Regions from separate parts of the Homo sapiens genome. Here region 2 is linked to region 1. The links are contacts of gene promoters, found by promoter capture Hi-C in blood cells and fetal thymus (Javierre and others, 2016). All regions are on one chromosome and are shown on one strand. The core of a region is centred on a gene start or on the middle of the fragment in contact, and the rest is flanking DNA. Distances in the headings are between cores, read along the strand shown.

The links. The method cuts DNA at HindIII sites, captures the fragments that hold promoters and counts their contacts. A CHiCAGO score of 5 or more calls a contact.
Region 2: a fragment that was not itself captured here is called in contact with the fragment with the promoter of OR8U1 in region 1 in 1 of 17 cell types (erythroblasts); the score reaches 5.6 in erythroblasts.

The regions. Positions count from the first base shown.
Region 1 is chr11:56,373,085-56,379,099 of GRCh38, forward strand. It overlaps OR8U1 (olfactory receptor family 8 subfamily U member 1), which reads left to right and starts at 2,540. Exons shown (of 1, transcript NM_001005204.1): 1 at 2,540-3,469. The coding sequence starts at 2,540. The coding sequence ends at 3,469. The HindIII fragment of the contact is 6,958 bases long and covers 1-6,015 here.
Region 2 is chr11:55,936,725-55,942,739 of GRCh38, forward strand. No RefSeq gene overlaps it. Among named protein-coding and RNA genes, the nearest start is that of OR5I1, 3.3 kb to the left of the region's middle. The HindIII fragment of the contact is 2,549 bases long and covers 246-2,794 here.

The DNA.
Region 1 (6,015 bases), core at 1,290-3,789:
TTCTTATTAGATTGAAGTAACTAAAAATTCCTGTTTAGAATTTTTAAAAATGTTTGGAAATAAACAGTTCCGTTATTGACCAAATTATACATTCTATGCCCAAACTCTGCTTTCCCCTCTTGCAGTAGCTAGAAATTTTACCCAGGATTAGTGGGGCATTCGTTAGACATTACTAATATGTCTCTAGAGATATTTTCCAAAGAAAATAATATAACCTAGGGGCAAGGGGAAGAAATATTCAAATGTCATTCCAAAATTAATCTTTAATTCCCCATCATCTAACATCTAGAAGAGACTACATTAGGAAATGAATAAAAACAGCGTGATTTTCAACCACAAAGGGTCTAAAGTCTATCAGGGGAAGATATATGGAAACAGATGGTTGTAATAAGAGATGAAATATAGATTAGGTATGTCTAAAATGTTTTTGGAAGACAAATATGAAAGCTGTTAACATGGGAAGGAAAAATTAAGTAGCTCTTCATAGAAGTGTGATATTTCAGCAGAGCTTGAAAGATAAGTAGGAGTTTCCATTTTCACTGTCTATTTTTCTGTAAAGAAAGAAACTAGGAATGGCAAGATTAAAAATAGAGAAGTATGGAAAGGCATTTTGTTATTGACAAATTGAGACCAATCATTAATTGAAACAATGGATGCTCCTGCTGACTGGAGAGTTGAGTGGAACCGGGATAATAAAAATATTCAGAGATGATACTATAAAAAGTCACATGTCCTTTCAAATATAATGCATGCTCTCCTTTGGATTCAAAGTAAAATAGTTTGTGTGCACACGTTTCAGGGTTTTGTGTTTTACAGGTGGAGAAAAACGAATGATAAGAAAAGAGACCAGAAATATAGGGTAAAGTTGGATAACGCTTGCTTTCTTTCCAGCCTGGACTACTATCTATTCTTTCACTGCTCTATCTTCAGACTCTATGCACGCTCTGAAAATTAATAGTCCCCACTATATATTATTGAATAAAGAACTGAATGAATTGAAATAACCTTCTACAAGAGTAGCAGTTAGACAAAATCCAGGAAAATGTTAAGGATAGAATGTTCAGTCTTGGTTACAGATTACAGTGGGTGGTATAGCTAGGAACTGTTAAAGGTAAGTTGCTTATCTACTCATGTTAGTGAAAATGGTTCAGTGTGTGGGGACTAGTGTGTAGGTTTTGAAACTGTGCTTGTAACTACTAGTAGATCTTAAATCCACTTTTTAGGATCCCAAGAAGCATTGTTTGAATTAAATAGAATGGAACAGATTACGCTAGAAAACGAAAGAATATGTAATACAAGCGGATGTCAGGGAAGCAAAAGTATTATTCTCAATATATCTATTAGTTCCATGCCATCTTATAACAAGTATTTATTTCTATAGTTTGTCATAAAAAAGTTTGAGTCTGAAAGTTAGTCTTCTTGAGAAGGGTTTGGTCTGAGCAGTGCAAAGACCAAAAATTCTCTTTTTACTTACCTCCCTTTTCTCTTTTCTTTTTCCTATTTTAACTCAAAATTGACGTTCAGTTTTTAACATGCAATTAGAGATTTGGAATTTATGGGTTCCTATGTCCTTATCCATCAATTTCCATGTTGCTATAATTAGACATTAATGTTCCATCTGTATTAGGGTTTTAGGATATCTAGTATATACTTACATATTGCATATCTAATATGTATCTTATACATATAATAAATATAATTTATTTAGAATAAAATTAAGGTAAATAAGTATTTTTTGAAAGTTACTACTTACCACATTATGTTGCTCAATAAATATGTTTATTAATACAAAACACAAATAACTGAAATGGATTCTTTGATTAATTGAGCAGAAGTAAATACTCAAGAGCTATTAGTAAACTCTGAAGAACAGTGAAGAAACACAGGCTCTTATTTTATTTATATATTTATTTGCATAGTAATTTTCAAAGCGTGAAATTTATAAGTTTTTAAGGAAAGCTCTATTTTCCATTACTAGATATAATGGTGGGAGAGAGAAGAAAGAGGAGTTGAGAGACATGATATTTGATACTATTTGGGTATTCAATAATTCAATTTTAAAATTATCCAAAATGAATAAGAAAATGATGATACACAACATTAAATAGAGTAGGAAAACAAAAATTAATGCAAAAAATGTAATTAAATCAGTTTTTTAATAAAAGATAAAAAAGCAGACATAAACTGAATGTAAAGAAACATAAACTTCCAAATCTCTTAGAAAGCAAATATCAATTTTACTCTAATTTACAGGATAAGATTATGTGAGGATTCATTCCCTACATTCATGTAAGTTCATGCTTTAGATATAAAGATGTTTATACGGTGTTATATTCTTTTTGCTCTCCATCACATTTCCAGAATTCCAGTATGCTAACAATCATTATATTAGTTAAATAAATTAATAAATAAATCTAATTAATTAAACTCTTTACAATACAATAAATATAAAAACACCACATATAGGATTTACAGTATTAAAATATGACTTAGACTTAACTCTTTTCTCTACTTCCACATTTAGATGGCCAGAAAAGATATGGCTCACATCAATTGCACCCAGGCGACAGAGTTTATTCTTGTGGGCCTCACAGACCATCAGGAGTTGAAGATGCCCCTCTTTGTGCTATTCTTATCCATCTACCTCTTCACAGTGGTAGGCAACTTGGGTTTGATCCTACTCATTAGAGCGGATACAAGTCTCAACACACCAATGTACTTCTTTCTTAGCAACCTAGCTTTTGTGGATTTCTGTTACTCTTCTGTCATTACACCCAAAATGCTTGGGAATTTCTTGTACAAACAAAATGTTATATCCTTTGATGCATGTGCTACTCAACTGGGCTGCTTTCTCACCTTCATGATATCAGAATCCTTGCTACTGGCTTCCATGGCCTATGACCGATATGTGGCCATTTGTAACCCTCTATTGTATATGGTTGTAATGACTCCAGGAATCTGCATTCAACTTGTAGCAGTTCCTTATAGCTATAGCTTCCTAATGGCACTATTTCACACCATCCTCACCTTCCGCCTCTCCTATTGCCACTCCAACATTGTCAACCATTTCTATTGTGATGACATGCCTCTCCTCAGGCTAACTTGCTCAGACACTCGCTTCAAACAGCTCTGGATCTTTGCCTGTGCTGGTATCATGTTCATTTCCTCCCTTCTGATTGTCTTTGTCTCCTACATGTTCATCATTTCTGCCATCCTGAGGATGCATTCAGCTGAGGGAAGACAGAAGGCTTTCTCGACGTGTGGCTCTCACATGCTGGCAGTCACCATATTCTATGGGACCCTCATTTTTATGTACTTACAGCCTAGCTCTAGCCATGCCCTGGACACAGACAAGATGGCCTCTGTCTTCTACACAGTGATCATTCCCATGTTGAATCCCTTAATCTATAGCCTCCAGAATAAGGAGGTGAAAGAAGCTCTGAAGAAAATCATTATCAATAAAAACTAGAGTTTTGTGTTTATAAAATTAAGAAAGTAACTTGAGTAAGGAAAAATGGACTTCTTTCATGGTATGATTTTTTTCCCAGTATAAGTTATCAGGATCCTTGTTTCTCAATATGTGATGTATACATATATTTTCGCTGTGTAATACAATTTTCTAGAGAATTTCTCTTAGAACGTTAGGTATAAAAGTAACTATAAGAATTTACAACACTTCTCTTATTTTTCAAGTGGAAAATATATTAAAATTATTAATTTTCTTGCATAATATTTTATACCAATTTTCCTATTTCTCAAATGAAGAATGCATAAAAAGTCATCATCAAGATATATAATTAGTTATGTGCAGAGCACAGACAAAAGTTAACTCCTCTCCCCGTCCATCCCCAGTTCAGGATTCTGAAGCTGTATTTACAATATCCCACGTGAAAAATAAAGACACATAGTCTAAACATTTTCTTTCTCAATTCCTAATTTTTTGAAAAAATACATGACAATATAAAAATGTCCTATATTTATGCATTTAACATATTGTCTTTATTAATACAAAGAGTACTGCTTTCTAACCTCACCTATGTTACTGACTGAATGTACCTTCTACTTCCTGGAAGTCTTGTTCTGTCTCTGAAGACTAACTCTCTAAGAGAACTGCTTTTCTTATGCCTACAAGATCTCATTATACTTTTTCCCAAAATGTAAATAATGTAACTCAGGGATAGAATTCTGGAGGGAGGAGGGGAGGGCATTATAATTCAAACAAATATATTCACAGTCATTGAAACATCATAAATCATTTTTCCAGTAACAAGGATTATATACAGTTGTGCACAGCAAAGCTCAGGTAAGCTGGTCATTATTTATTAAGGTATAGCTTATAACTCAATGAACCCAGTAGGCAATGTAGCCGAGTGAATAAGCACATGCCTTATAGTCAAAGTATGTGGTTAGATCCCAAACATGTCATTGTGCTCTAGGTATGCTCTTATGAGTTTACTCATCAGATAAATGAGAATAATGTTACTCAGTTTAGAGACTTTTATAGGACTAAGCAATATGGAAAGGGGTAATAATTCATGGTAGGCACTTGAGTATCATTTCCCTTCCTTCTATGAACCTGCAGACTTGAGTGCTAGTCTACTAATTATAAGTCACATAAACGTGAGGGAGCAATTTATAAATGAAGATTATTGTACACCACAGCTGATAAATTGATAATAGAGAGAGAGAGAAAGAGAGAGAGAGAGAGAGAGTAATCATTTTAAAGTATCTTTTTAACTTTTATTTTAAGTTCAGGGATACAAGTGCAGGTTTGTTACATATGTAAAGTTGTGTCAGGGGGTTTGTTGTACAGATCTTTTCATCACCCAGGTATTCAGCCTGGAACCCATTAGTTATTTTTCCTGATTGGCTCCCTCCTCCCAGCCTCCAGCCTCTGAAAGGTCCCAGTGTGTGTTGTTCCCCTCTATGTGCTCATGTGTTTTCATCATTTAGCCTAAGAAAGATTTGATTTTATGAATCATGCCTATCATTTAATATTTTTGCTTCACTTTTTTTCATCTGTAGCCTGTTTCCATACTTAATGGCAAAAGATTAGAAATATACTATTAATGCCCACTGAGAGATTATATTAAAATAGAAATAATTCTTAAATAACCTGCTTTAGGTTAGTGTCCATTTTCAATAATTTTCTTATATATTTGTGAGGTTGTAGAGACATAGGAGTAGCATGACCCACAGTTCTCAAAAGTTTATTTCCTCCTTTTTTCTTTAAACACATGTATCTACTACTTGAACATTTCAGTGCCTTCCTATTGTCTCACATAGGATTAAGCTCTGGCAGAAGATGTTAAGTCTGTCATCTATATATTGAAAGGTTATAATTAATGTTCTTAAATGCATAACCTCTTGGCTGGGCGTGGTGGCTCACGCCTGTAATCCCAGAACTTTGGGAGGCCGAGGCAGGCAGATCACAAGGTCAAGAGATCAAGACCATTCTGGCCAACACGGTGAAACCCCATCTCTACTAAAAATATTACAAATTAGTGGGGCGTCGTAGTGCATGCTTGTGGTCCCAGCTACTCAGGAGGCTGGGGCAGGAGAATCACTTGAACCCAGGAGGCGGAGGTTGCAGTGAGCAGAGATCGCTCCACTGCACTTCAGCCTGGTGACAGAGCGAGACTCTGTCTCAAAAAAAAAAGCATAACCTCTTATCTTAGCAGGCTGGTACATTGTCTGTGCATCAGCCATTCTACTAAAGGGCGTAGATATTTTGGGGAATAAAAGCCTGAATGTGAGCTCTAAATCTAACATTTGCTGAGTTGGAAGTCCTCAACAGTTTATTCTATTTATGTATACTCTAGTTTCCTGATCTTATAAGAAAGTATGAAATATAAAAAGTAAAATGAGGTGAAGAAAATATCAACTATTAAATTCATAAAATGAAGCAGTATGAAGATAAAAATATATCAGCTGTTAAATTAATTGTCCCAAAATCAAAAAAGATTATGATTAAAAACTTTTGTTTGAGTGAAAAATTTTTTAATTGTAATTTTT
Region 2 (6,015 bases), core at 270-2,769, 440 kb before region 1:
ACTGGCCCAGAGTATTAAAAAAGTAATAAATTAATGAACAGACTGATGATCACATTAAGTAAAGAAAATATGTATATTATTAAAAATGGACTGACTTATAGAGTGTTCCTTTGAATAAGAATTTTAGAACATCTGCTTCTTGTTTTCAGGATTTGATAGATACCGGTATGCTGTGTCTCTTGACTGAGTAAATAGAGTGGTGTGATGAAATATGCCGGCTAATTTTTTTTTTACTGTAAAGCAGAAGCTTTAGCGAAATAAAAACAAATGTCAGTAAATACCAGCTCTGAGGATATTTTTGACAGAAAAGAGCTTAGTGTAATTCCATAAACCCTGTTCACATACTAAACTAAGCTGATAAAATTAGTTAACTACTTGTTTCAATACTTCTGGCATTTATCGAACTCCTTGGCTTCCTGGAAATGCTCATTAAACATTAGTGGACTGACCAAGTACAGTCAGCAAAACATTTAGTTATATGTTAACTTGCAATTAAATAACATTACTATATATGGCATCATCACTGATTAAATTTTATAAGTAAAGAACAATTGTTGCATTTATTGTTATGGTAGTATAATACAAAGTGTTGAGTCAGAAAAATCTGTTAAACACTGCTTCTGAGGTCTCAAAATACTTACAGAATTATAAAAATTTTTAACTTGACTTTGAAGTACAAATAATTTGATTTTGACCATGAAGGATAGACTTGGAAATACGTAAAAAACAAAACAACAACAAAAAAAAGCAAGCAAAGCATCAATCTCTAAAGTTCATGTTGAGAGGGCCAAGATGGGAATTAAAAATATTTGAGTCACTGCCTCATTTACATAATAGATATTATGACAATGACAGTGCTAAAGACAATTTATTTATCTCATGTAAGCAATAAAACTACCCAATGACATAAACACTGAGAAGCCTATTGATAATCAGAAGGGTTAATCACGTGCTCAAAGTGCTGCCTTATGTTATCACCTCAAAGCGTGTGAATGAGATGCAGCACTACAGCAGGACAGTGGTTATTCTCATTTTGCTTGTTTGAAAATAGTCAAGGTATTTAGACAATATAAGACATCACTTCGATTTAGGAGGAATTTGATTAGATGCCCATCTTGGCTGCATGGGGGCTGTGTGACCTTGTGCCACTTAATATAAATTATCCTAATCTATACTACAACAATGATAATAAATATCTCATAGTGTTTCTGTATGGATTAAATAGGGAAAATGTTCTGCCCCCCCTTTCTGTCCCTTTATCTACCTACTTATCTTTCCATGTGTCATTCTTTAGGGAGACTGACATACAGTAGATAACATCAAAAATTAGTTTTGATTGCCACGCTGCCATTTTATTCTTAGATTATGACTAGAGCTACCTGTCAAATTTTACTAACAATAATTGTCACCTGTATAATGCTTACTATGTGTAATGCAATATTCTTAACACTTCACCTATAACTCATTTAATTGTCACCAAAAAACTAACAAAATTACCATGGAGTTACTATCATTATGATCTTTTTCTTACAGATGAAGGAAACTAAGAAAGAGAGAATTTGAGATTTAGGATGTGATGGAAACAGGATTAGAACCCAAAATTCTGACTCCAAAGCCACATGATACACTGGTTCTCTATAAACAGGATTCTTTTTATTAGCTCCATATTTTGGATGAGAACATTAATGCTTAGGATAGTATCTCAAGGTCATTCAACATGTAGTTGACCAGTGCAATTCAAACTCAGGGGTGTATGAAATCAAAGCCCATGAAAGCAAGCATGAGGACGGGGAGAATATTAACAGTATGACCATTCTATGGTTCGCATACTTCCCAAAAATGTGGGGCATGTATTCTTGGCAACTTCACATTGGTCATTCCTTCTGATAGTCAAAAAATTCTATTTAGAGAAATATTAAAAGGAAGAGAAGAGGCATGAGGATAGTGGTAGGAAAAGACAGTGATTCTTGGATTCTTCTTTTTAAAAGGGAATTAACAAATAAATCTTACTAACATACTATGATTCAATAAGTTCTTTCCAAACATAACAAAACAATCTTATGTTATAAAATAAGTTAATTCAAGTTATAAGGTAGGTAGATATGCTTTGGTTCTCCTATCAGTAACAAAAGGCTTATTTAAACAAAAGACATTTTAGACCCTGTGGAAGCTATATCAGAAAGGGTGATAAAAGATAGATTACCTTGTCAGTACAATATTGAATGATAAATGTACTTTCAAAACTATTTGTACTCAAATCAGTGGTTCTTGCTCTCAGACCAACAAAAGTTGATTTTTTTTTTTTTTGCACGATTAAAGCCAGTCCAATAACCGCAGAAGCTACTTACTGAGGAAGGAACTGTTGCAAGTTGCTTAAGGGAATAATTTCACCAATACAACCAAGGGCTTTTACATGAATTCTTATGTCACTGGGGACCTAGTAATTGAAGGATTCCAAGCATGTTAATTTCTGAGAGACTCCTAGAGAATAGTTACTAGGCTTATTGCCAATGTAAATATTTTCTCTAGAAACACATTCATAATTTTCATGGAAATGCTGTTGTGTTAATTTGAAGAGGTAATTTTCATTTTCAGTAATATCGAGGAGGTTGTTTTTAACACTTGGCATTCTACAAAGGACCGTCTTTATTGTGGAGGTTCTTTACAAATAGTTCAAATATTTAAAACTGTAACTACTGCCATTTAAATTTCTCAAAAACCACATGGAAACTCTAAAAATATTATTTATGATTACTAGTACTGAAAATTAATGAATTATTTTTGTGGCATTGAAAGCTTCTGTAGAGCTTAGTATCACCAGATGTTTTCTGACAAGACAGAGGACTTTATAACACCTGGTACCAAAATGTATCAGGACAATGGCAAGGTCATCTCAGTAAACACAGGTTGTCATCATCAACTTCATTATTCTGATATACATTGTATAAGATAGCTTCATTCAAACAACTGTAGTTAATAGCTAATTGTAATTAGTGCAGCCCCACCAATTATAGTCTCTTTATTTTCACAGTATAATGCAGGTTTATTTATCATGCCTATATCTGGAGTATCACAGAGGAAATCTTCTTAAAACTTATATCCATTGCAAAAATCCATTTATGAACCTACTAAAACATGGTCAGAAGCCTCAGCTTAATTATTTTTTAGGAAAATAATTTCACAACTTCAATCCACTGTGTACATTCTAACTATTGAAAAAAAATCTCAGTTACTGTGAGCTCAAATCTGAATTCATATTTCCTCTTTATTTGTGGTATGATCCTTCTATATAACTGCACACAATACTGAACTTATTTTGTGATTTAGGAAAATATAGTGATAGGGTTGGTGAACTGAAAGTTAACTCTATAAAGAAAAAATGAGAGTTTGTCATTTTAGTATAATATGCTCATACAAGGAATTTATCATTTAAAAAATTTTGAGGTAATTATCATTTTGGTAATGAAGTTATTTGAAAAACATTTTAAAAATTTACTCCGTAAATCTAGTTTTTTGAATATACTTCTTTAGAAATCACAAATTTAAATTTTAAAAATTAATTATTTATAATTTCATTCATTAAAGGAAAAAAGTAACCGTTCTCTTTTGCTAATCCTACTCTTCGGAAAGGAAAGTGATAATATAATATTCTAATGGTTGAGTGATTTATGAGAATCTGTGGGCAGAGGTCTAAGCCTGTAAGACGGTTGTAAGAAGAGACTATTCTCTCCAGTATCTGTAGCGTTGTCTCTGCAGAAGAACACTTGCAATCCCTATTTAATTCTTGGACTTTGCACTACTCTTTATTGTGATTCTAAATTTCCCTGACTTAGTATCCAAGAGACATGGAGGGCAAGGAAAGATGGAAGGGAAAATTTCACATGACATAAGTCAATTGTACTTATTATTCAAGTATTCTAGAAAACCACAGGTTTTAGGTATATAGACATAGTTGAGATTTTTCTTTTTAACATCAGATCAACTGGAAGATAGAAGTACGATAGTGGCTGCTAGTGTTAGGTCTGAGAAGACACTGAAGATAATTTGGCTCTGGTACATGTAACATTATATTATCTGATATAAGCTAATCGCATAGTCAACTGATCGGGTTTATAGTCAACTGATCAGGTTTCTGCCATGTATGGATTACTGATAGAAGAAAGATACATAGTATATACATAATTAAATAGCCTCTGTTATCTCTATTTAAAAAGATATTTTAAAAATTATGAGACTACCACTTCAGGTAGGATATAATAATTAATTATAGTTTATCACTTCCACTGAGAATTTACAGGGAAAAAAAGGAATAAATTATAATTATCTTTGAGACCTGAAACTGTCTATCCCTATACACAACCTAGAAGGTAAGAATGAAAAACACACCTGAAGTCGCATTATTATGACTCTGAAGTTCCTTTATTTTCATTCGCACACCCTAGTTTTTATTTATTTTTTTTTTAGAGATTTTGCCTAGGCAAATATTTTGGCTGCTCATTACAAATATTTTCTGAACACCCCATGGATTATTCAATGAGAAACATCAGCAGAAAGAAAGTTTATTCCCTAGATTGTTTCAATTCCTTGCTTCAAAGCCCTTGCCTTCTATTTCCATTAACTTGGACTGCCATATCTTGATCTAATCCAATCAAATCTTTGCTTGGAAAAACTCAAAACAAATGTCCAATTATTAATAAATTATTTTCCTGCCTTTCCTTACCCCAAGACACTGTCAAAACTTTTTGAGGTTGTATTAGCCCTTACCAAGGTAAACAATAAATGGCTTTCTTATGAACTTGTTATTTTGATGATATTTGGGGAATTAGATTTTGCATCATATGTATACACTCATCACATGTACTAGAATGAGTATAATTCAAAAAAAGGTATAACTAGTTAGAAGTCAGCTGAAGACCTGCATATGTCCCTGCAGGTATTTATCAATTATGAGTATGAGTAAGAGATAGAACGTGGGTTTGTCCACAGTTTTTGGCAATTATGTAGTGCTGAAATACCTAAACTGATGGGAGGATCTCCAACAAATGAAGGACTTCCTATTCACGATATTTTAAATTCAAATTTTGGCATGTAATAAACTAAAGACATAGAAAATATTGGAAAAACAAACTGGTATTCTCTCAAATCTCTTAGTGTTAAGGACATAAAGAACTGCAGTGGATTTGCATTCTGAGAATTAAAGAAAATATAAAACCCAGGAGGAATTGTGACTTGGGGACACAGCCAAACTATATCAGTTGGAGTCTGTAAAACATGCAGAAATTGCGGTAATTGCATGGGATTAGAGTGCACAAACTGCATACATGTGGGGCCTCAAATACAGTTATCTTCCTTCCACAAGATCTGCCAAATTTTAAAGCTGTGTGTAATGTTAGATTGAAGATGCCAGAAACCTCTGAAAACACAAGAGTGGACATTCTTGTAGTCTCTTCTTGTTGAGGAGCCATAGAAAGTCCAAGTTCTTAAGTGCAAGCTGGAAGGAACATGCCTTAGACATAGGGTGAACTGGAGGTATACCGCACCTTACCGAAACAATAAGTATGATCAAACCCTAATTGTTTTCTGATCGGATTAAGTTTATCAGCCTTAACTTCATTACAGAGAGGATTGAACGCTCTGGTGAAAGAAATCTTCGGGAATATCTTTTTTTTTTTTTTTGTAGTCACTATTTGGCATGCAATAAGAAACAAATTACTAAATATAAAAATAGGCAAGTCCTTATAATGAATAAGCATGAATTTAAAAAGCTGAAATGCATGTTGACTCACAAATTGAAATTGGCAAGCAACTTTTTTTTGTTTTTAATTATAATATATTTAAGAAAATGCTATTTTAAAACAGAATTGGACAATGACAAAAGAGTGAAGAGATCCCCAAAGAAATTGGAAGCCATAGAAAAGTGTTAAATGGAATTGAAAAATGCAATATCTAGAATGAACAACTTATTGAATGGATTTAACAGTACATTGACTATAAGAATACAGGGAACCAGATGGA